7 separate regions of the Homo sapiens genome follow, and all the other regions are linked to region 4. The links are contacts of gene promoters, found by promoter capture Hi-C in blood cells and fetal thymus (Javierre and others, 2016). All regions are on one chromosome and are shown on one strand. The core of a region is centred on a gene start or on the middle of the fragment in contact, and the rest is flanking DNA. Distances in the headings are between cores, read along the strand shown. Region 1 overlaps TP53BP2 (tumor protein p53 binding protein 2). Region 2 overlaps CAPN2 (calpain 2). Region 3 overlaps CAPN2 (calpain 2). Region 4 holds the start of CNIH4 (cornichon family member 4). Region 5 overlaps CAPN2 (calpain 2). Region 6 overlaps TP53BP2 (tumor protein p53 binding protein 2). Region 7 holds the start of LOC105373281 (a long non-coding RNA gene).

The links. The method cuts DNA at HindIII sites, captures the fragments that hold promoters and counts their contacts. A CHiCAGO score of 5 or more calls a contact.
Region 1: a fragment that was not itself captured here is called in contact with the fragment with the promoter of CNIH4 in region 4 in 3 of 17 cell types (erythroblasts, naive B cells and total B cells); the score reaches 5.9 in erythroblasts.
Region 2: a contact is called between a fragment that was not itself captured here and the fragment with the promoter of CNIH4 in region 4, in 4 of 17 cell types (monocytes, naive CD8 T cells, total B cells and 1 more). The highest score is 6.7, in monocytes.
Region 3: a contact is called between a fragment that was not itself captured here and the fragment with the promoter of CNIH4 in region 4, in 3 of 17 cell types (erythroblasts, naive B cells and monocytes). The highest score is 7.2, in erythroblasts.
Region 5: a fragment that was not itself captured here is called in contact with the fragment with the promoter of CNIH4 in region 4 in 6 of 17 cell types (M2 macrophages, monocytes, total B cells and 3 more); the score reaches 8.8 in M2 macrophages.
Region 6: a contact is called between a fragment that was not itself captured here and the fragment with the promoter of CNIH4 in region 4, in 11 of 17 cell types (total B cells, naive B cells, monocytes and 8 more). The highest score is 13.8, in total B cells.
Region 7: a contact is called between a fragment that was not itself captured here and the fragment with the promoter of CNIH4 in region 4, in 8 of 17 cell types (total B cells, naive B cells, erythroblasts and 5 more). The highest score is 7.5, in total B cells.

Annotation. Positions count from the first base shown.
Region 1 is chr1:223,787,072-223,789,930 of GRCh38, forward strand. It overlaps TP53BP2 (tumor protein p53 binding protein 2), which reads right to left. Exons shown (of 18, transcript NM_001031685.3): 16 at 1,937-2,103. Among named protein-coding and RNA genes, the nearest start is that of TP53BP2, 57 kb to the right of the region's middle. The HindIII fragment of the contact is 7,487 bases long and covers 1-2,859 here.
Region 2 is chr1:223,746,122-223,749,186 of GRCh38, forward strand. CAPN2 (calpain 2) reads left to right here. Exons shown (of 21, transcript NM_001748.5): 5 at 876-1,044; 6 at 2,918-3,001. Among named protein-coding and RNA genes, the nearest start is that of CAPN2, 35 kb to the left of the region's middle. RefSeq lists a silencer at 1,986-2,280. The HindIII fragment of the contact is 6,197 bases long and covers 1-3,065 here.
Region 3 is chr1:223,768,936-223,772,191 of GRCh38, forward strand. CAPN2 (calpain 2) reads left to right here. Exons shown (of 21, transcript NM_001748.5): 17 at 906-974; 18 at 1,512-1,590; 19 at 2,874-2,990; 20 at 3,246-3,256. Among named protein-coding and RNA genes, the nearest start is that of CAPN2, 58 kb to the left of the region's middle. The HindIII fragment of the contact is 2,356 bases long and covers 150-2,505 here.
Region 4 is chr1:224,355,448-224,358,511 of GRCh38, forward strand. It overlaps CNIH4 (cornichon family member 4), which reads left to right and starts at 1,432. Exons shown (of 5, transcript NM_014184.4): 1 at 1,432-1,546. The coding sequence starts at 1,478. RefSeq lists enhancers at 1,085-1,224, 1,782-2,282 and a silencer at 1,505-1,874. The HindIII fragment of the contact is 2,727 bases long and covers 299-3,025 here.
Region 5 is chr1:223,722,707-223,725,705 of GRCh38, forward strand. All of the region lies in intron 2 of CAPN2 (calpain 2), which reads left to right. Among named protein-coding and RNA genes, the nearest start is that of CAPN2, 12 kb to the left of the region's middle. The HindIII fragment of the contact is 6,664 bases long and covers 1-2,999 here.
Region 6 is chr1:223,813,334-223,816,261 of GRCh38, forward strand. It overlaps TP53BP2 (tumor protein p53 binding protein 2), which reads right to left. Exons shown (of 18, transcript NM_001031685.3): 3 at 907-1,020. Among named protein-coding and RNA genes, the nearest start is that of TP53BP2, 31 kb to the right of the region's middle. The HindIII fragment of the contact is 789 bases long and covers 868-1,656 here.
Region 7 is chr1:223,706,340-223,709,163 of GRCh38, forward strand. It overlaps LOC105373281 (a long non-coding RNA gene), which reads right to left and starts at 1,311. Exons shown (of 3, transcript XR_949164.2): 1 at 1,029-1,311. It also overlaps a transcript of CAPN2 not described here. RefSeq lists enhancers at 320-1,519, 1,520-2,019. The HindIII fragment of the contact is 175 bases long and covers 1,448-1,622 here.

The DNA.
Region 1 (2,859 bases), core at 34-2,533, 570 kb before region 4:
TTTTAGTACAGATGGAGTTTCACCATGTTGGCCAGGCTGGTCTCGAACTTCTGACCTCAAGAGATCCACCTGCCTCGGCCTCCCAAAGTGTTGGGATTACAGGCATGAGCCACCACACCCGGCCAACACATTATACCGGTTAACACATTATATTAACGCCCATAACTTCAGCACTTTGGAAGGCCAAGGTGGGAGGATTGCTTGAGCCTAGGAGTTCAGGGTTGTAGTGAGCTATGATCACACCACTGCATTCCAACCTAAGTAACAGAGCAAGATTGTCTCAAAAACAAAATACATACATAAATATATAAAATTTATATTTATATATATAAATTTTTAAATATGTTACTATATCAAAATATTCTATGGTCCAGAGTTTAAAACATAAACAAAGGCTGGGCATGGTGGCTCACACCTGTAATCTCAGCTCTGGGAGGCTGAGACAAGAGGATTCTCTGAGGCCAGGAGTTTGAGACTAGCCTGGGCAACAGACTGAGGCCCCAACTCCAAACGAAATTTAAAAGGTCAGGCATGGTGGCTCACACCTGTAATGCCAGCACTTTGGGAGGCCAAGACAGGCAGATTGCCTAAGCTCACGAGTTTGAGAACCAGCCTGGACAACATGGCAAAATTCCATCTCTACTAAAAATACAAAAACTAGCTGGGTGTGGTAGTACATGCCTGTAGTCCCAGTTACTCTGGAGGCTGAGGTGGAAGGATCACCTGAGCCCTGGCAGTCAAGGCTGCAGTGAGCTGTGATTGTGCCACTGCACTCCAACCTGAGTGACAGAGCAAGACCCTACCTCAAAAATAAATAAATAAATAAATAAATAGATAATAATTAAAAATTAGCCAGGTGTGGTGGCAGGTGCCTGTGGTCCCAGCTATTTGAAAGACTGAGGCAGAAGGGTCACCTGAGCCTGGGAGTTTGGGGCTACAGTGGGCAATGACCATGCCACTGCACTCCAGCCTGGGTGACAGAGTGAGACCTCGCCTCTAAAAAAATAAAATAATCACAAATATCAGCAATTAAAAACTACCAGCTGAGAGAGATGAAGAAGGGAACTCCAGGTTTGTGGTTCTCTGACCCCTCTCTCTTCATACCTAGGGCCTGAAAAAAGGCCTAGAGACAGAGGGAAAAGTTCAGCAGAGAGGGCAGAGGCGTCTGTTTTACCCTTAGGGGTCTTCCAATCAACTGGGAAAGGAGTTACTGAAAACTTGAGCAGTATGGAGTTCTGGGACCTCCTCATTTGTCTCTGTCTTCCCTCCTTCTTTAATTCCTCTCAAGCCCAACTAAAGAGGAAAATTTACCTCAACTTCTAAGCCTTGTAAACAAAAAAAATTTTCCTTGTATATACAAATGCCAATCAACATATATCTATCTAAAACTTCAAGTCCATTTTCCTCTAGGTACAGATCTGATGTTAGCAATCAGAATCATAAACTCAAAATCAAGAAAACAAAAGAGAAAAAAATAAAAGACAGCTCCAAAATATATGTTGCCTTTATTTCACTTTATGACAAGTTTGATTTTTAGGAAAACTTGGACCATTTGGGTTCTTAAACTGATCCTTCACTTCTCTTGATCATGTTGTTAGGAGAGGGGGGTCTGTTTACTTATTTGCAAGGATACACCATCAATCTATAAGTACTAAAGCCTTAATAGAGGGTCTTTTGATGGTCAAAGTCATTAACACCACTAGGTCAGATGCTGCAACACTGTCTTTTGTAATTGAAGAAGTCCCTGACAATAGCTGTTTCTAAGCATACAAACAGAAGCTGTATTATCTGTGACCAAGGCTGTTGTATTTTCAAGGCCCAAGACTATGGATAACACAAGATTTTTTCCAAACAAAAATACTTATTGAATTATACCCTGGAGATACAGAATAAATGAATGCAGTAATCAATACATTTAGTTCTACTTGTCACATACCATAAAGAAATTGGGAGCACTGAGTGTAGCCTTCCTCCATTTCCTCGCACTTATCTGCAGCAGTCTGCATGTCACTGTAGGTCATGGCAAACACAGCGGCTCCTGACTCCACCAAAAACTTACACACTTGGACGTTGTTACATGAGGCAGCACAATGTAATGGAGTCCTGTGAAGCAAGATACGAGGGCTAGAACTGTTTTCCTAAACTGAATGACACCTGCTGATAAGATATCTGGAAAGAAAGTTCTTGAGTCTCTCATCTACCAAGTTTTCTTCTGAAAACCTCTTAAACAGTTTTTTAAAAACCAGTTCAACACAGATGATTGAACCCATCAAAGAATTACAGCCACAAATGAAAATTTCAGAGAGTCATGGACCACAATGGGGCTGGGAGCTTAGCAAAGGGTGAGAAGAATCAAGGACGTGAATAAACAGAAATGAAATGTGTATAAACATTTAAGAAAAACAATATTAACATGGATTTAGTTCTATGTCCTGGAGCATCCAGCCTAATTCTTTCAGAGTAGAAGCCCTAACAGTCCTTAAGTTATTTAAGTTATACACCTTCACTCAAAACACTGGCCTTTAAATATCTATTTATCGTCATCAATTTTGAAGGAATTAAGTTGCATAGATGAACTACTTTTATATTTTTTAAATCCCAAGTTAAAACAAATTTTAATTGAAAAAATTTGTCAAATCAATTGAGACCAGAAAAGTGACTGTAAAATACACATATTTCAACTATAGGTAACTGGTCAGCAGGAATTTATTAATACCATTAAAGAGAACTCCAGCATCTCAAATGTTTTATAATAGATTATAAATGACCCTAGAGTAATGGTAAAGGTACAAGAGCCAGTACCACTGTCCAAACTCAGAAGTTGAGTGTGAAAATGTTAATCAGGCTCTAAAGTACATA
Region 2 (3,065 bases), core at 93-2,592, 610 kb before region 4:
TTAGAGCAGCAAGTGGATTTCTGTTTCTTACAGTCCCAATCCAGGAAGGAGGAGTCAGCTGTGAGAACCTGGAGCCTGACGGATGCTTCTAAGTCCCACTGCTCAATACTGGGGTCAGGGAAGCCACCGGACTCCAGCATCAGCAGTCAGGAGCACTAAGCCCTTGCCAACACCGTGCCTGTTTCTCAGAGAAACTGCTTCCATTATTGAATGGTTGTCCTTTTTTAAGCTATCAATGCCAAACGACCCATTAGTAGACCTCCCCTTTCTTGTCAGGATGTAGAAGGAATCAATACAGGAGGTTCATCCAGAAAATCACTAAGGTCCTTCCGACTCTAAGGTTCTACGAGAATCTTTTTTTTTTTTTTTTTTTTTAATACGGAGCCTCATTCTGTCACCCAGGCTGGAGTGAGCGGCATGATCTCAGCTCACTGCAATTTCCACGTTCTGAGTTTCAGCAATTCTTTTGCCTCAGCCTCCCAAGTAGCTGGGACTACAGGCATGCACCACCATGCCCAGCTAATTTTTTTGTATTTTTAGTAGAGATGGTGTTTTGCCATGTTGGCCAGGCTGGTCTTGAACTCCTGACCTCAAGTGATCCGCCCACCTCGGCCTCCCAGAGTGCTGGGATTACAGGCATGAGCTACCGCGCCCGGCCTGAGATTTTCTTTAAAACACAAAATACCAGGGAAATGGTAACTGTGGACATTATACCTTGCCTTCCTGAGCACCCCGAGCTGGGAACAAGGCCAAGGAGAATGTGAGCAGGGGGTCCCTGGAGCATCAAATCTAGACGGTACTAGGGGGTGGCTGTTTGAGAGATTATAGCATCAGTAGTGTCAAGGGTAGCGGCAGCGTCTAATCCCCTCTTGTAGGATCAACGGATGCTATGAAGCGCTATCAGGGGGTGCCACCACTGAGGGCTTCGAAGACTTCACCGGAGGCATTGCTGAGTGGTATGAGTTGAAGAAGCCCCCTCCCAACCTGTTCAAGATCATCCAGAAAGCTCTGCAAAAAGGCTCTCTCCTTGGCTGCTCCATCGACGTAAGTCCAGGCTGCCTTCCCTAGCCTCACCCCATCTGCTCTTGCTGAAGGGAGGCTCCCACAGTGCCCAAGGGAACCCACTGCTCCTGTGTACAACGTAATGCAGCCCTCGTCCACGTAGGGGCCAAAGGAAAACCTCCCTCCACCCTCTGAAGGTCCGCTGAAAATCAACTGGCAAAAGGAAGACTAATACAAGAAATGGCATACAAATGTATGAATGTGGACAGGGGAGAATCACAAGAGATTTCCCTACCACGCATTGGGATACAGAGGGTTATATTCCCTTCCTCTTAGGGGAAGGGAGATGGGGAGGTGCGGATGATTTTAGGGATGTCGTAAATGATTTTTAGGGGAATTCATTGGGCTTAAAGAACATAAATGGTCTGGGATAAAGTCTGTTGGGCCTGCAGAGCAGACAGTGGTTTGTGACAAGTCTGTCTAGCCATGTTGACAGACTTGTCTTTCTTCCTGCAATATGAGTTCAGTTCATAATAACTCATGGAAAGGACCAGACGTCATTGTTTTCATCTTTGGCAGGTCCAGACTTTAGGCAGGTGAGGGAACTTCAGAGAATAGCTTCCTCCTGTGCTTTGGGGGAGAGTGGATCGAGAGACAGAAGGAAAGGGGAGGTCAGAGAGATCTTGAGGCTTCTTCAGTTTAGCATTTCAAAGTGCCATCTCTTAGAGGTATTGGTTTCTGAGCACCCCAGTGTCTACCATTATTGCTCATCACCTGGAAGCCAAGGGTTGCTAGGCAAAAGTCAAGCTGTCTGGGGTGTAATGGATGGGGTGATGGTGCCTCCAGCCCTTCTGTCTTCAGTCCACTTCCCACTCTTAGCCTGCTCTGAATCACCCCCACCCCTCTGACCACAGGTTCCCTGGGAGCCCCTGCCACCTGCTGCCCCTGCCACCTTCCCCTCCATCTGCAGTGCTGTGCAGCCTTCCCCTGCACTCTTGCAGAGCTAATAGGCCCGTGGGAGACTTCGGAAGGAAGAGGAGGAAAGATTTCCTCATAATAGCCTTGCTGGCAACGCTCACCAGGGGATGGGAGGTGGGCACTGTGCCCAGGAGCCTTGGAGCAAAGGCTGTGCCCAACCTCTGAGCCCTGTCCCATCCAGGTTCTGGTCTCTGCGGGGGACAGAGATAAGAAGCCCTGGCTTTTGGAGCCAAAATCTAGGTCAGACTCCCTAGGCAGGAATTCTCAAAGTTTATCAGCAGAACACGTTGAGGCAGAAGACCCTTTCTGCTCCAGCCCTTCTTCCCAGGCTCAACCTTCATCAGAATAGATAGGGGAAAGGAGAGGCTGTGAGGCGTTCTTAAAACAGAAGCAAATTCTGACTCAGACCGGAATAAACAACCGTCCTAGTATAAACCCTACAGCTGGGCTGGGCCAGACCACGGAGCATGGGCTGGTGGTGGGGCGAGGGTGTGCTCAGTGTCCCTGGGCCACTCAAGGCTGTCTGGGTATCAGCCCTGCGCCATCGAGGACCCCCTCCGGCCCTCTCTCGGCCGTGCGCCCTTTCCCTGCGCCATCGAGGACCCCCTCCAGCCCTCTCTCGGCCGTGCGCCCTTTCCCGCCCTTCCCAGCCTGCAGAAATCCGTGGATGCGCTATTCACACGGGAATGCCTGTGCTCGTTCCGCGAGAGGGTTGCATTCCGCCTTTTCTCTGGTATTCTCGGCGTTCAAGCATTTGAACGGGGTAGGAAAGGTTCTCCAAGTGCAAGAAAGCGCAGCCCTGAGCCTCCCACCCCAGGCCTCGGCCGCTGCGCTAGTGCGTCCGGCGGTCCCGCCCGGCAGTAGGACAGAGGGAGCGAGGGAGTCCGGGAGGAAGGGAGAGCGGGTGCGGCCAGTCTGACGGTTGCTGTGTTTGCAGATCACCAGCGCCGCGGACTCGGAGGCCATCACGTTTCAGAAGCTGGTGAAGGGGCACGCGTACTCGGTCACCGGAGCCGAGGAGGTAACGGCCGGCGCGGATGTGCAGGGGTCCTGCTGTCCTGACACGATGGCCACAGGCACAGTTT
Region 3 (3,256 bases), core at 78-2,577, 590 kb before region 4:
ATTTAGATAAGGGCTACTTTCATGAGGATCCTACTTCCCTTTTGCTCTAGCTCCTTCCCAGGCCACCCACCTTTCCCCAAGGCAAACTAGTCATCCATTTCCCCCTTGTTTCCAATGCTTAGTGAGAAGTGGTGGTAAGGGGCAGCCTAAGCTTCTGTGAAGTTTTTTCTGTTTGTTTGTTTAGTTGGTTGGTTGGTTTTTTGAGACGGGGTCTCACTGTGTCACCCAGGCTGGAGGGCAGTGGCATGATCTCAGCTCACTCGAACCTCCGCCTCCCAGGTTCAGGTGATTCTCCCCCCTCCAGCCTCCCTAGTAGCTAGGACTACAGGTGCGCGCCACCATGCCCAGCTGATTTTTCTATTTTTAGTAGAGACAGGGTTTCACCGTGTTGGCCAGGCTGGTGTCGAATTCCTGACCACAGGTGATCTGCCCACCTTGGCCTCCCAAAGTGCTGGGATTAGAGGTGTGAGCCACCATGCCTGGCCACTTCTGTGAAGTTTTATCTAGTGGATTCATGGTGTACACCTGCTAGCTCCCTTCACCAAAGGCCTCTTAGATATACTCCACATACTTTAAAAAAAACAGCAAGGGCCTAGCCACTAGAAGCCATCCAAAGCCCTCTGCATGTCATCCAATACCTCATTTTTAGTAGTATCTGGGGCCTCCACAGCACCCCTAGATCAAAACAGCAACCAGATTCGGCAGGGAGCCAGCAGGTCTTTCTCGCCCTTCCTCCAATCCTTTAAATGGAGGTTTAGCCAGTGGGAAAAGCAGGAAAAGGATCCTTCTGCAAACCCTCCTTGTGTATATGCTATGATATTCAAAAGATCCAGTTGAGAAGACAAACTAGGTGACACTATGTGCAAATGGACCCACACTCAAGGGCTTTCCTTGACTGAAGGCAGTCGGACGGGAGTGGCAAGCTGGGGCTGAAGGAGTTCTACATTCTCTGGACGAAGATTCAAAAATACCAAGTAAGATCCCAGAGATGCGGGTGGATCTGTGTTGGGAAACATTCTGTTCATATGCTTTAAGATGCAGCAACTCCTGCACAGAGTGGAGAAACATTTCCAAGGGGATTGGGATTTTACCCATAATGAAGCTCAGAGTGAGTAAAGATGGGGCTGAGGAAATGCAAACAAAAAACCAACCAGGACTTCGCAGGTGAAATGGCCTATTCCCTTCCTCCTGATTATTGGGATCATCTAAAGGCCACCATCAAGGGTTTCCTGAAAAGGGTTTTTGACAGCTAAAGTACAAAAATTATATAAGACAAGAACATGGACCTATGGGCGTTGGCTGGCTGATTTGATGGGCATATTTACAAACCAGCTCACAGACAGAAGCAAAATACTATTAGTTATTTAAGGCAGAAACATAAGTGATTCTTCCACGGCCAAACTAGAGGCACAGAGCTGGAAAAACTTCATCCCCACTCAGCACATACTAGGGAGGTAACTTGCCAGCTTTGCTTTGGGTCATAGTTCTTACAGCTAACTTATGTGTTCCAGAAAATTTACCGAGAAATCGACGTTGACAGGTCTGGTACCATGAATTCCTATGAAATGCGGAAGGCATTAGAAGAAGCAGGTAACCCTTTATAACTGCATTTTCGTTCCTAGTTTAATCTGTCTGTAGAATATGTGAACACTCATCTTATACCATATAACACAAGATTTGGTAAAGCTATAAAATAAAGTAGGTGCTGGTTTAATACAGACACCTCCTTTTCATTCCCCTTTCAAAGACTAATTGGTAAAATTAAATGCAGTAGGATGCTCTGCCCTCTGTGCCTTCTTGAATCCAAGTTTCCTTTGGAGCCGCCTGGCACAGTAAGCAGGCAAAGCCAGGTCTCAACAGCCTCCTCCAGGTGCTTCCTTTCTGGTGCAGGGTTGGTTAGGCAGAAATCAAATGTCTCAGCTCAGCCCTTAGGGTAAGACCCTAGCAGAATTGGATATCAATAAAAGGACACAAGCGAGTGGTAGACCAGCAAAGCAGGAGACTGCTGGGCTTTGGGAACAAATGTGTCAGCATGAGGCTGTTCATTCTATTTGCTGGAATATAATGCTGCTGCAGAGACCCCACACAACATTGGTTTATACGAGGTATGTCTTTCTGTCGTATAGCAATCCCAGCTCCAGCAGTCCACGGCTAGGACGGTGCCTCCTACTATCCTACCATGTCACTATCTGATCACGCTTCCCCCAGCCTCCCCCCATCCATGATGCCCACCGGACCTTCAAGGGTCACCCTCATCCAAGGGACCTGGGACAGCCTGCCACCACAAACACATGCCACCAACAGGTTGACAGAAGAAGGGCCCCTTGCCTTTAAGGGCACACAGGCCATTTCCGGTCACACATCCCACCAGCCAGACTCTGATCACAAGGCCTCTGTTGACTGCAAGGAAGCTGGGACATGCAGTCTTGATGCTAGGTGGCCATAGGCTCAATAAAAATTATTTTACTCTGGAAGGAGAGAGAACTACTATGAGTTTACCAGGAAAGCTTCTGCTCACATATATCCAGGAAGAATCTGATCTTCAAGACGATTGAGAGCTAAACAAAAAATCAAACAGCAGCAGCATGGTTAACAACATGAAGCAACTGTGACCATGAGAACAGAAACAGGCAAGAAAACACTTATGTGTCAGCAAAGGACACAGGCAGGGTGAAGGTGGACAGTTCAAAAACAAAAGAAACAGCAGAAGGTACTGGCTTTGCAAAATCAAACCAGTCTCACAGAAGAGCAGCCAAGGGACAAAAGCAATTATACCTCATTTAAATCACCACATTAGTTTCATAGCCTGTGAGCGCAGCTAAATGGAACAATCTAATGCTTAGCAATGAGTTTGTTTGTTCATGTAACTTCAGGTTTCAAGATGCCCTGTCAACTCCACCAAGTCATCGTTGCTCGGTTTGCAGATGACCAGCTCATCATCGATTTTGATAATTTTGTTCGGTGTTTGGTTCGGCTGGAAACGCTATTCAGTAAGTGGATATTTGGGGAATGACTCATTTCAGTTCTCTTGGTATTAAAGTGGCCTGCCTTTCACCTCGGTGAAATCATCTAAACTAGAGACATGTCTTCCAGGAGTTGAGAATGAAATTCCCTCTTTACTAATTTGAGGGTGAGGAAGAAAGCATGTATGGTGGTCAGTGAAGTCAGTTGCTGAACTGAAAAGAGGATAATGTGATCTGTTTCAGCTCACTCACTTGTGACACCCTCTTTTTCTCCCTCCACAGAGATATTTAAG
Region 4 (3,064 bases), core at 182-2,681:
TCAGTGAGGGATTCCCTAAAACGAGTGATACCAAGCCACTTACTGCAAGTAATGGATAGTTACATGAATGTAAGAATAGATTTGGACTGAAAAATATAAAAATCACTGGAGAGGCTGCATCTGTCTCTTCATCTTATCACATAGGCATTTTATCATCATACATCATCTCAAAAAGAAGGGTCAGTACAATAAGATATTTTGAGACAGAAAGACCACATTTACATAACTTTTATTACAGTATAATTGTTCTATCTTATTATTACTTGTTAATCTCCTACTGTGCCTGATCTATAAATTAAGCTTTATCATAGGTATGTATATATAGGAAAAAACATAGTACACATAAGGTTTGGTACTATCCATCGTGTCAGGCATCCACTTGGGGGTCTTGGAAAGTAGCCCCTGCAAATACAACTGTATTTGTTAAATGAATGAATGGATGAGTAAGACATCGTATTCACTTCTTAAAGATCTTAAAATCTAGAGAGGAGAGAAACATTGCTGTAGGAGAGGATAAACAAAGGACTGTGAAATCTCTGGAGAAATTGAAATCAGGAAGGGAAGGGCAAATCGCAAAAGTCAAGCCAGGAGCATTAAGTTAGATTTGTGCTTTGAGATGAAAACCCCTTACAAATCCTAAGTCAGGGAATGCAATGGTTCTAGAGCCAACTCTAAAGAAAATTTCACACATGGGAAATACATCCTACTGGATATCCGGATTAAAAGCGTTCAGTAGAGACTGGTGCAGTGGCTCAGGCCTGTAATTCCAGCACTGTGGGAGACTGAGGCAGGCAGATCGCTTGAGCCGAGGAATTCGAGACCAGCCTGGGCAACATGGCAAAAACCCCATCTCTATTAAAAATACAAAAAATTAGCCAGGCGTGGTGGTACATTCCTGTAATCCCAGGTACTCAGGAGGCGGAGGTGGGAGGATCACCTGAGGCCAGGAGGTAGAGGCTGCAGTGAGCTGTGACCATGCCACTGCACTCCAGCCTGGGCGACAGAGTGAGACCCTGTCTCAAAAAATAAAATAAAATGAGAAATAATAAAATAAAATTAGCTGGGCATGTCGGGAGGCTGAGGTGGAAGGATTGCTTGAGCCCAGGAATTCGAGGTCATAGTGAGCTCTATCACGCCACTGCACTCCAGCCTGGACGACAGAGCAAGACCCCAGCTCTTTAAAAGAAAAGCGTTGAGTAAATACTTGTTGATTAATTCCATTTCTGGAAATAATCGGATTTATGAAAGAGGCCCTGCCCACCTCTTTGATATGGACTTGTACTAATGAACTACAATTCCCAGCATGCGTCAGAATTAGGGCCGTAGAGTTTTTTAAAATATGGACTACAACTCCCGGCATGCCACACCAGGATTCGAGGACCACACGCCTCAGCCAGCCCCGGCAAGGGCCTATCAGGGGTGGGTCGGGGCATCCGAGCGGGTTTGACGGAAGGAGCGGCGGCGACGGAGGAGGAGGATGGAGGCGGTGGTGTTCGTCTTCTCTCTCCTCGATTGTTGCGCGCTCATCTTCCTCTCGGTCTACTTCGTATCCTTGCCTGAGGCAGGCGAACGCCTTGCCGGGGGACACGGCTGAGGGTGGGCCAGTTGGGCACCCGGGCAGGTGTGTGGGACTAGGGAGGCGCCCGGCGGCGGGCGTGGGCTCCCTGGGAGCTGGCCTGGCCGGGGCGGTGGCGCGGGCCCCGGAGCGGGTAGGAGAGGCTGGCTGCCCTACCCGACGGGCCCTGCTGCCCTGCACGCACTTGCCCTGCCTGGGTTGCCGGCCGCCCCTCACTCGGGTCCGAGTGGGCCTCTCCGGGCGCGCCCCGTCTCGGCCTGCCCGCCTGCTCTCCGCTCGTCCCCGCGGCGCCCGGACCAGCCCTGCCTGAGCCACGGCCGCCCTCGGGAGAGAAGCGTCGCTGTTTTTCTGGGAGAGGCCCTGCGCCGTGCTCTTCGTCGGATATTGGGGGTCCCAAGGGCGGTCGCTTGCGACAGTCGGGTGCCGGGATAAGTGCGGGCCATTTGCCTCCTCCTGTTCCCCACGCAACACCCCCGGCACCCGCCCCTTTGTTCTGGCGGGTGTTAGTACTTGCAGGGACCTTTCACATCCAGGAGTTGACTCATTCGCCAAAGGAGCGAAGTTGCTTCCTTCACTGTGCCGTTTTGTAGTGAGTGTTGGAAAGGAGTTGTTTTAACAACTGTCTACAAAGTGATTATTTTGGTTGTCCCCGGTGGTTGCAGATCTGTAAATTCAATAACTACATCTGCTGTAGTTCCCAATCGTTTCTCAGCTTTTAAATTTTTCTATCGATCCATGTTAAAACTTAAGTTGCAGTATTCAAACTGTTTTCCAGAGCAATAAATGGTGGTTGAATTTAGCACTGCAGTAGCCATGTCGGCTACAACTCTTCCCATCTCTTGACAAAGCATCTAGGCTTAGTTGTTGCCCAATGTTGTATTGCACCATCCAGGTTTAAGTAATTAAATATAAGAAAAAACGTATGAGGAACTCCGCATTTCAGCTTCCTTTCTTGGAAATCACATGTACCTGTTTCTGATCGGATTAAACCATTTGTTTGCTAGAGCATGCGGGCTTTAGGATAGTCGTACAGAGTATATGTTCAGTGCAGCTTCATTTTTCATTGTGGACTGGCATCCTGTTGTAGTGGAAAGGGACAAAATTTGGAATCAGATTTCCTGGTCAGCTAGCTCTTTGCTTGCACATTATTTCCCTAAGCCTCAGTTTTCTGATCTTTAAAATAGGAAATGTTTATTTCCTAGATATGCACAATGAGAATGGTGCTGAGCACCCTAGCACAGTGCCTGCCCCATAGCTAATGTTCAGTAAATATTGCTCTGCCTTCGTGTCCCCACCCTCCCCAATTGAGCAGCAGTTTTTACTTTGATGATATCTAACGACAAGATTTCTGAGTTTTAGTAGGTTTGGGGAGCTGATTGAAAGGGCAGCATCACTTGCCTAAGTTTTGATGACCTCTATGCCCCTCTTGTGATATAAGGAACTAGAGCAAGCTTGTCCAACCCACGGCCCACGGGCTGCATGTGGTCC
Region 5 (2,999 bases), core at 482-2,981, 630 kb before region 4:
CAGGAAGTTCCAGATACCTCATACCCAGTTTCCCCTATTATTAACATGTTACATCAGTGTGGTACACGTGTTATAATGAATCAGCATTGATGCAGTATTATTAAAGTCCATGCTTTATGCAGATTCTCTTAGTTTTCCCCTAAGGTTCTTTCTCTATTCCGGGATCCCATCCAGGACCCCACGTTTCATTTAGTTGCCAAGTCTCCTTCGGCTCCTCTGGGCTGTGACAGTCTCTCAAGTCTTTCCTTAATTTTGATGACCTTGACAGTTTTGGGGAATATTGATCAGAGATTTTGTAAGATGCCTGTCTATTGGAATTTGTGGTGCCTTTTTAATAAGTATGCAGTGGCTCACACCTGTAATCCCAGCACTTTGGGAGGCTGGGGCAAGAGGATCGCTTGAACCCGAGTTTGGGACCAGCTTGGGCAACATAGCAAAACTCTGTCTCTACAAAAAAATTACCTGGGCTTGGTGGCACATGCCTGTCGTCCCAGCTACTCGGGAGGCTGAAGCAGGAGGATCACTTGAGCCCAGGAGGTAGAAGCTGCTGTGAGCCGTGCACTCCAGCCTGGTTCTGGAGCCACTGCACTCCAGCCTGGGCAACAGAGGGAAAACTTATCTCAAAAAGTAAATAAATAAGTACCCATGTAGTTAAAATGTTTAAAGACTAGCAAATAGATGTTGGCTGGTTTGATGGAGAAAGTAAATCCATTCTTTTTCTTAAAAATGATCTCTTCACCACCAGTCCCAGCACCCCCCTTACCAGCCTCCCAGGGCACTGTCCATGGCTACATTGTCCATGGGCCATCATGTCCCCTCGGCTTCTCTTCTGGTTGTAAATGCTCTTGCACTTTTCTCCCTTGTGGCTGCCGTCCACACTCCCAGCTGCCTTCCCTCTGCACTTAAGATCTAAGATCTTAGAGACGAGATGAGACATCTCTTGCCTTCGTGCATCTAAGACAGCTCATCAACAGGTCCAGGTGAACTGCTAACACTGCTGTGTTGCTTGGAGGCCCCTGTCCCACCCTGGCTGCCTCAGCTTTGGCCATGGTACCCACGGTCTCCAGCTACATCAGATGCCTGAAGAACAAATCTCTCCTTAGCTCTCCCTGCCCCCTCTCCAGGAATAGGAGCAGTGGGACCCCCTTCAAGAATCCCCCATTTCCCATATACTTTCCTGCAAAGCCACAGGGCGTGCAAAGTGGGATTCCAGGGCTCCAGCCTGCTCCCCATGGGCCTCTGGATCCAGGGGTGACTCTTTGCCTGTTTGGGTGCCTCTTTAGATTTTCCACCAGCTTCCTGTGGCCAGGAGCCAGACCACGCCCCTATACGGCCATAGTTGTCTTATCTTGTCTCTGAGATTAGAAGGTTGGAACAGATTTTCCTGATGCCCCACTACTTCTGACATTCTGTGACTTTAGAATGTTACCTTCCTCGACAGCCCCCTGCACCCTCACACATCTGGCTTTAGCTGGACTGGTGTTTGTGAGGAATTATATCTCCACCTTGTTCAGCACCAGTCCCCAAGAAGACCAGCCAAGGGACACTCATCTGGGGATTTGAGAAATGAAGGACCGTGGGTTCCATGAGGTCTGTTGGGGTCCTGGCTAGCAACACTGTCTGGATGATTGAGCCCCAGGAGGAGGTGGCCTGGCCAGCAGGTGTGCAGTGAGGCCACTTCTAGACCACCCCTGTCCCATAGAGCTTCTAGTGATGATGGAAACCGTGTATATCTGCACTGCTCCAAACAGCAGCACTAGCCCTGTGTGGCTGTGGAGCACTTGAAATATGACTCATGCAACTGAGAAACTGAATTTGTAATTTTATTTAATTTAAATGTAAATAGCCACATGTTCCTTGTGGCTGCTGCACTGCACAGCAGCAGACTGTTGCGCTCTGGAATCCAGCCTCTCAGCCTTTACTCTCCAAAGCGGGATAGTATTCACATCAGAGCCAAACAATGCACAGACGTCAATAAACAGGCAGGGCATGGTGGCCCATGCCTGTAATCCCAACACTTTGGGAGGCTGAGGTGGGAGGGTCCCTTCAGCCCAGGAGTTCAAGACCAGCCAAGCAACATAATGAGAACCCATTTCCACAAAAAAAAATTTTTTTAATTAGCTGGGCATGGTGGTGTGCACCTGTAGTTCCAGCTACTTGGGAGGCTGAGGTGGGAGGATCACTTTGAGCCCAGGAGGTCAAGGCTGCAGTGAGTCGTGATTGCACCATGACATTCTAGCCTGGGTGATGGAGTGAGACCTTGTCTCAAAACAAACAGCTAAACCTACATCAATAAACATCTGTAAATATCAGGGTAGCGAATGAGGACTTGGTGTCTGGCAGTTAGGGACTGGCCTCTTATTCTGCCACATACTGGCTCTGTCATTTTGAGTGGATCACTATCCTCTTCACACCTCAGTTTCCTCATCCGTGAAATGAAGATAATAATAGTGCCTACTATCAAGACCATCCTGGCTAACACGGTGAAAACCCATCTCTACAAAACTACAATATGAAATACAAACAATTAGCCGGGCGTGGTGGCATGCACTTGTAGTCCCAGCTACTCAGGAGGCTGAGGCAGGAGAATCGCTTGAACCTGAGAGGTGGAGGTTGCAGTGAGCCATGATCGCACCACTGCACTCCATCCTGGGCAATAGAGCGAGACTTCATCTCAAAAAAAAAAAAATTGTGTCTACCTCAGAGGACTGTAAAGATGAAATGAAATAATAGACATATAAAGCTCAGAGCTCCAGAGGCTGGTACATAGTAAAGGTTTAATCCATGCAGATTGCACGTTCTCTTTGGGGACAGTACAGCTGGAGGGGAGTACTGTCAAATGAGGTCGCGTCGCTGAGGTGGAGACACATTGTGGCACATCTTGAATACCCGACTGGGTCCCAGCTTTAGCACTTGACATTGGCGGCCACCTAAGTTTTGGAGAGGGGTATGACAGAGGAGGTGGTGTCCCAGGGGGAAGGTCCGGAAACTCAGAGGAG
Region 6 (2,928 bases), core at 12-2,511, 540 kb before region 4:
GCCCTCTACCTCCGAAATTTTCAATTCAAACCTTCTGTTTTTTGACCACTATTTCCTTTCAATCTCAGGCGTCTCACTCATTTCCTCTCACACCTGTTCTTTCATCTAACTGAGACTCACAGCCTCTTAACTCTGTCTACTCTTTCCCCACAGCCCCTCCTGTCTTCACTTCTTCCCCACCCAGCTAAGGTATCACCTTGCCAATACCCTCTTCTCCCCTGTCCCACTGAACTCCCATTGAATTTGTCTAGAAACCTTGGGTTTTCTAGACAATTGCCTAGAAAAATTTGTCTAGACACCTTTGTTTTCTTCTCTTCTTACAACCCACCTGGGCTGTAGACCACCACTGGAGAAAAATCATGTATGGTCTCATGGTCTCTAATCTCAACTGGCCTCAATGGTTCCCAGCAGTCTGGCTTCCCTAGTAAGCCCTCTCTCCTAATCTCCAAAACAGCTCCAGCTTCCCACCCACCTCCATCATCACTCCTACCTCAGAGAAAACAAATGTTTTTAGATGAGAAATCCCTCAACTTACTCCCACAAAATGCACAAATTTAGCCACATCTGCCACAGTTTTATTTCTGTCCTGTTATTATGGAAGAGGGATCCTTCCTCTTGTCTAAGAGGACTTTCTGCCTCAGGGCTGTGGAAGGACCTAATCAGGGACCCTGCCTAACAAGTATTTCCTTTCTTATAGTTTCAACCCCCTGCTCTAATGACTCCTTCCCACCTGCATTAAACAACTATAGTCAAACTTCTCCCCTCGACAGCCTATCTCCACTGTTTCCACTTCCTAACCTCTCCTTCACCTCTCAAATTACCTGGCTTCTCATCATGTGCCACCTACTACTCCCAGCACAAAATAAAAGCTTAAATATCTGTCACGATTCACAGAGCACTACCTACCAATGTCCCTGCCAGGGGGGCGTTCATGACGAAGGAAGAAGCGAACTTCGTTCCTCTGACTTCCAAATCGTTGAAGAACATCAAACATTCGCTCATTATCCGCAACTGGACGTTCTAAAGCAAATGAGTAGAAACCACATTATTTTCAGGTAAAAGAAAGATAAATATATCATTCACCATCTATCCTTCATGCAAATTATACATTATGGATACAACAAATGCTTAGTATCTCAGGTAAATTTTTTTCATTAAAACACGTCTTAGAAACTGAAGTCACACAGATTTTCCACACACACAGAGTCAAGCCAGGGTGGAATACTACAAAAGGCAATGCATCTCAGCCAGCTGTCAGGAGCTCAGCAGTCTAAATCCAGTGGGCTCCACGCTGGCCACAGGTGCACCATTTAACTTCTGTGGTTCCAAAAGTTTCTGTAAAATCTATATTAGATCACATAGTCCCTTCTAACACTAATATTCATGATTCTCCGAATATACAAAGAAAATATTAAAAAGCAACTTTCTAAATAGCCTAGTCTTTTTTTTTTAATTGTAGTTTTCAATACAGGCTATTTTTAAATTATAATTTTACAAACAATATTTAAAAAAATCAGACCCATCCATTTCCAAATAAAAGTCTATTTACTGCTGTAAAATGTATCTATATTTGCCCCTCTTCCAGTGAGAATACCAGTGTCAGAATTTTTCTGGAAACAAAAAGAAGGGCACACCTAAATACCTAGTAAAAATAGAAGCTTCAGGAGAAACAATATATCTCAAGCTGTCCTAAAAAAATCTTCCAATCTCAAGGGATCTGGATATAAAAACGAGACACACTGTTTGAGGAGGCAATTGCTTAAAATCAATGAAACTCCAGTAATGTCAACATGATTTTTAAATATAAGAATGTTGAAATACCCTAAGAAAACTCAACACATTTATCAGTAATCAAGGACACTATCTTAACACCTTAAATAAACATGGGCAGAGAACAGAGCAGGCAAGCATTCACCAGCCAATTTGGTGAACCAACCCTGAACTTAATCTGCTTGGCTGCAACAAAATGCAGTTCTGGTTCTACTTCCAGTAACATAACATACTGAGTTGACATAGATAATCCCCTTTTATAAACCACACATATTCTAAGACCTCCCCCAAAAAGGATACACCACAGTTAGAGAGAAACACCTCCAAAAGAAATTCTGAGTAGCCCTTCCACCCACCCCTACAAAATACACACACACATGCTGTACTCAAAACAAGTAAAATCTCCAGGTTCCAGGAGCAAAGAGAGAACTCAAAGGAAGTAAAGTAGCTTGCTGTCCACGCTGGACTGCCCCAGAAAGATATGGACTTCTCACAAGCTCTAGGCTAACATCCCGATGGCCCTGTGATGGCAAAAGATCAGGCATAGGCCTGCATAAGCTGAAACAGACACTTAAAGGCTCTCAAAGCTCCCTACTAACACTCATGTGCCAGCCACACCTACGGTCATGCACTGCATGTTGACAGTGGTCCCATAAGATTTTAAGGCCATATTTTTACTGTACCTTTTCCTATGTTTAGATACACAAATATGTACCACTGTGTTACAACTGCCTACAGTATTCAATACAGTAACATGCTGTACAGGTTTGTAGCCTAGGAGCAAAAGGCTGTATACCATATAGCCTAGGTGTGTAGTAGGCTATACCATCTAGATTTGTGTAAGTACGCTCTATGATGTTCACACAACAAAATCACCTAATGACAAATTTCTCGGCACGTATCACCATTATTGACACATGACTGTATCTCCTTGACAGGGCATTCCTGCCTATGTGACTCTGAACATGCCATTCCTATCATTCATCATCTCCCCCAGCACCCTTTTCTCCTGCAGATGAAATACATCTATTACTGCAACTATCACATTGTATTATAAATGTCTGTGGATACTTGTTTCTCTTTGTGCCCTGTAAGATACCTGAAGGCAACTTTCATCTCTGTATCCCTCTCAATCAAGTGCAGTCCCTAGCACATAAC
Region 7 (2,824 bases), core at 285-2,784, 650 kb before region 4:
CTATGAGGAAAGAATAAACCCTGCAGCTGCTTCAGAAGAGAAAGAAATCTCTTTTCAAATGAAACCGTTTTTTGCAGCCCTGTGGAATTCATATTCTCTGTGATCTCCTTTGGATTCAAATCACGGACCTGAAAGAGGGAGGGGAAGAAAACAGGTTCTTTTCCTCTGCCTGGGCCTGCCGTTCCCTCTGCCCTCCTACACTGGGTATGGACAGACCCCAAGGGACCATGGTCTAGGTGTTGGCAGCCAGGCTGGCTCTACAACACAACATGTCAGCTGCTCTGCTGGGCCTCTGTTTACTCATCCATTAAATGAGGAGATAAGATCTCCCTTGACTGGCTGTGAAGATTAAGTGCACAAATATGTGTAAAGTGCACAAATATGTCAAATAAAAACTGAGACTGACACGTGGAGGTGCAAAATTAAAAAGGAAGCTTTGGTTAGTATCTCCAGAACCTGGCTAGGCACGGTGGCTCACATCTGTAATCTCAGCGCTTTGGGAGGCCGAGATGGGTGGATCACCTGAGGTCAGGAGTTCAAGACCAGCCTGGACAACATGGCGAAACCCCGTCTCTATTAAAAATACAAAAATTAGCTGGGCATGGCAGTGAGCCCCTGTAATCCCAGCTACTCAAGAGGCTGAGGCAGGAGAATTGCTTGAACCCGGGAGGCGGAGGTTGCAGTGAGCCGAGATCACGCCACTGCACTCCAGCCTGGGTGACAGAGTGAGACTCCACCTCAAAAAAAAAAAAAAAAAAATCCAGAACCTGCAGATTGTGCCTCTGATGCATCTCAAACATCCAGGGCCAGGGAGAAAATAATCTAAAGAAAAATACTACTGAAAAAGATTCCATTGCCATGGCCCTCTGAGACACACACATTCTTATTCTCTTATTTTCTCTCTCTCTCTCTCTTCTTCTCTCTCTCTCTCTTTCTATCTCTCTCTCTCACTCCCTCTCTCATTTACTCACAAGGTCAGTGGCCCAGACCCAGGCAGTTCTGGATAATCCCAGCTGTTTCTGACTCACCACCATCCTCAGGGCTGGCTGACTCACTCCAGGAAGGTTTTCCACCATGAAGTGTTTGTCTATGTCCTTGTGTTCCCGTGAAAAGGATTGTGTGGTCAGAGAAAGAGAAGACTTTGCTGGGTCAGTGAGATAGCATAGTGTGAGAGGCTTTGGGAAGTAGAAAAAGCAACATTAACTCAGGTTTAAAAACTAGACTTTGTCCAAATGGTTGGGGAAAGTAGTCATTGTATGTGTTTGCAATTAAATTTGGGTGGCATAGGACAGCCTAAAGCCCTTTGTAAGCAGAGCTCTATGTGCGCAGCGATCCCTAGAAGGCTGGCAAGGGGAGTGGCCAGGGCTGCACCAAAGAGGGTGTTGCCTAGCTGGGGAAGAGGAACTTCAGGTGAGCCAGGAGGCTCTTCTGCTCCCAGGCTGTGCAAAGCTTCTGAGTTGACTGGAATGATAGGTCTGATCTGCCCATTTGTTGCTAAAATGACTTAGGAGGGAAATGACCTCCACCTGCCTGGGAGGAGTCACTTCCTCCAGAGATGAGCTGTCCTTGAGGAGATCAGTGGGAGGAGAAGCCTGCGCTCTGCCCCACTGGGCAGAAGGACAAGCTTTCTCCCAAGAGCCTCGAGCCCAGAAGAAGTCGGGGTGGGGCCAATGGAAATCAGACAGTGGAACAAATGAACAGCTTCCAGGACAGGGCTGTCGCTTTCCTCTGTTTTCAATTGTGATGGCTTCATGAAACCCTTGCACCAGAAACCCATGAGCTAGAAATGAATGCCTGTATCCCCATCTCTGGACTCAGAGTCCAGAGTGCCAACCATTACACAATGGAACCTGTGTCCCCGCCTTATTCAAGAGTAAAGAAAGCAAAGCCTGGTGGTGGACGGTGGTACCTGCCCATCAGGCAGCATGCCCAGACTTGCAAACCAGAGATGGAGGATGTCAAATAAAAACAAAACCATGGGAGACTGAGGCAGGAGAATCACTTGAACCGGGAGGCGGAGGTTGCAATGAGCCAAGATCGCGCCATTGCACTCCAGCCCGGGCAACAAGAGTGAAACTCTGTTTAAAAAAAAAAAAAAATCCAGACTTTTATAAAGGGACACTTCAATAGAAAGAAAGACTATTGCAGGCCAGGCGCAGTGGCTCACACCTGTAATCCTAGCACTTTGGGAGGCCAAAGCAGGTGGATCACCTGAGGTCAGGAGTTCAAGACCAGCCTGGCCAACATGAGGAAACCCCGTCTCTACTAAAAATACAAAAAAATTAGCTGCACATGGCGGCTGGTACCTGTAATCCCAGCTACTCAGGAGGCTGAGGCAGGAGAATCACTTGCACCCGGGAGGCGAAGGTTGCAGTGAGTGGAGATTGCACCACTGCACTCCAGCCTGGGCAACAAGAGTGAAACAAGAAAGAAAGAGCGAAAGAGAGAGAGAGAGAGAAAGAGAGAAGGAGAGAAGGAGAGGAAGGGAAGAAGGGAGGGAGAAAGAAAGAAAAAATAGAGAAAAAGAGAAGGAAGGAAGGAAAAGAAAGAAAAGAGAAGAGAAAAGAAAAAAAAAGAGAGAAAGACAATTCCAATTCAGAGAATCTGCAAGCAGCTCAAAATCAAACAGAAAAAGATTCTTCTTTTCTAGGGTAAAGGAGGAGCAAGTGGAGATAAGCAGACTCTTGGGAGGGGAAGCTGGACAAGTGAGGGGAAATGACCAGTGGGAGCTGACAGGAAAAGGGTCTTGCTGTGTTCAGTCAATTCCCAGGAGAAGCTGGGCAGGGAAGTGACTTGGCAGGGACACTCCACTTTGTTTGTGCTT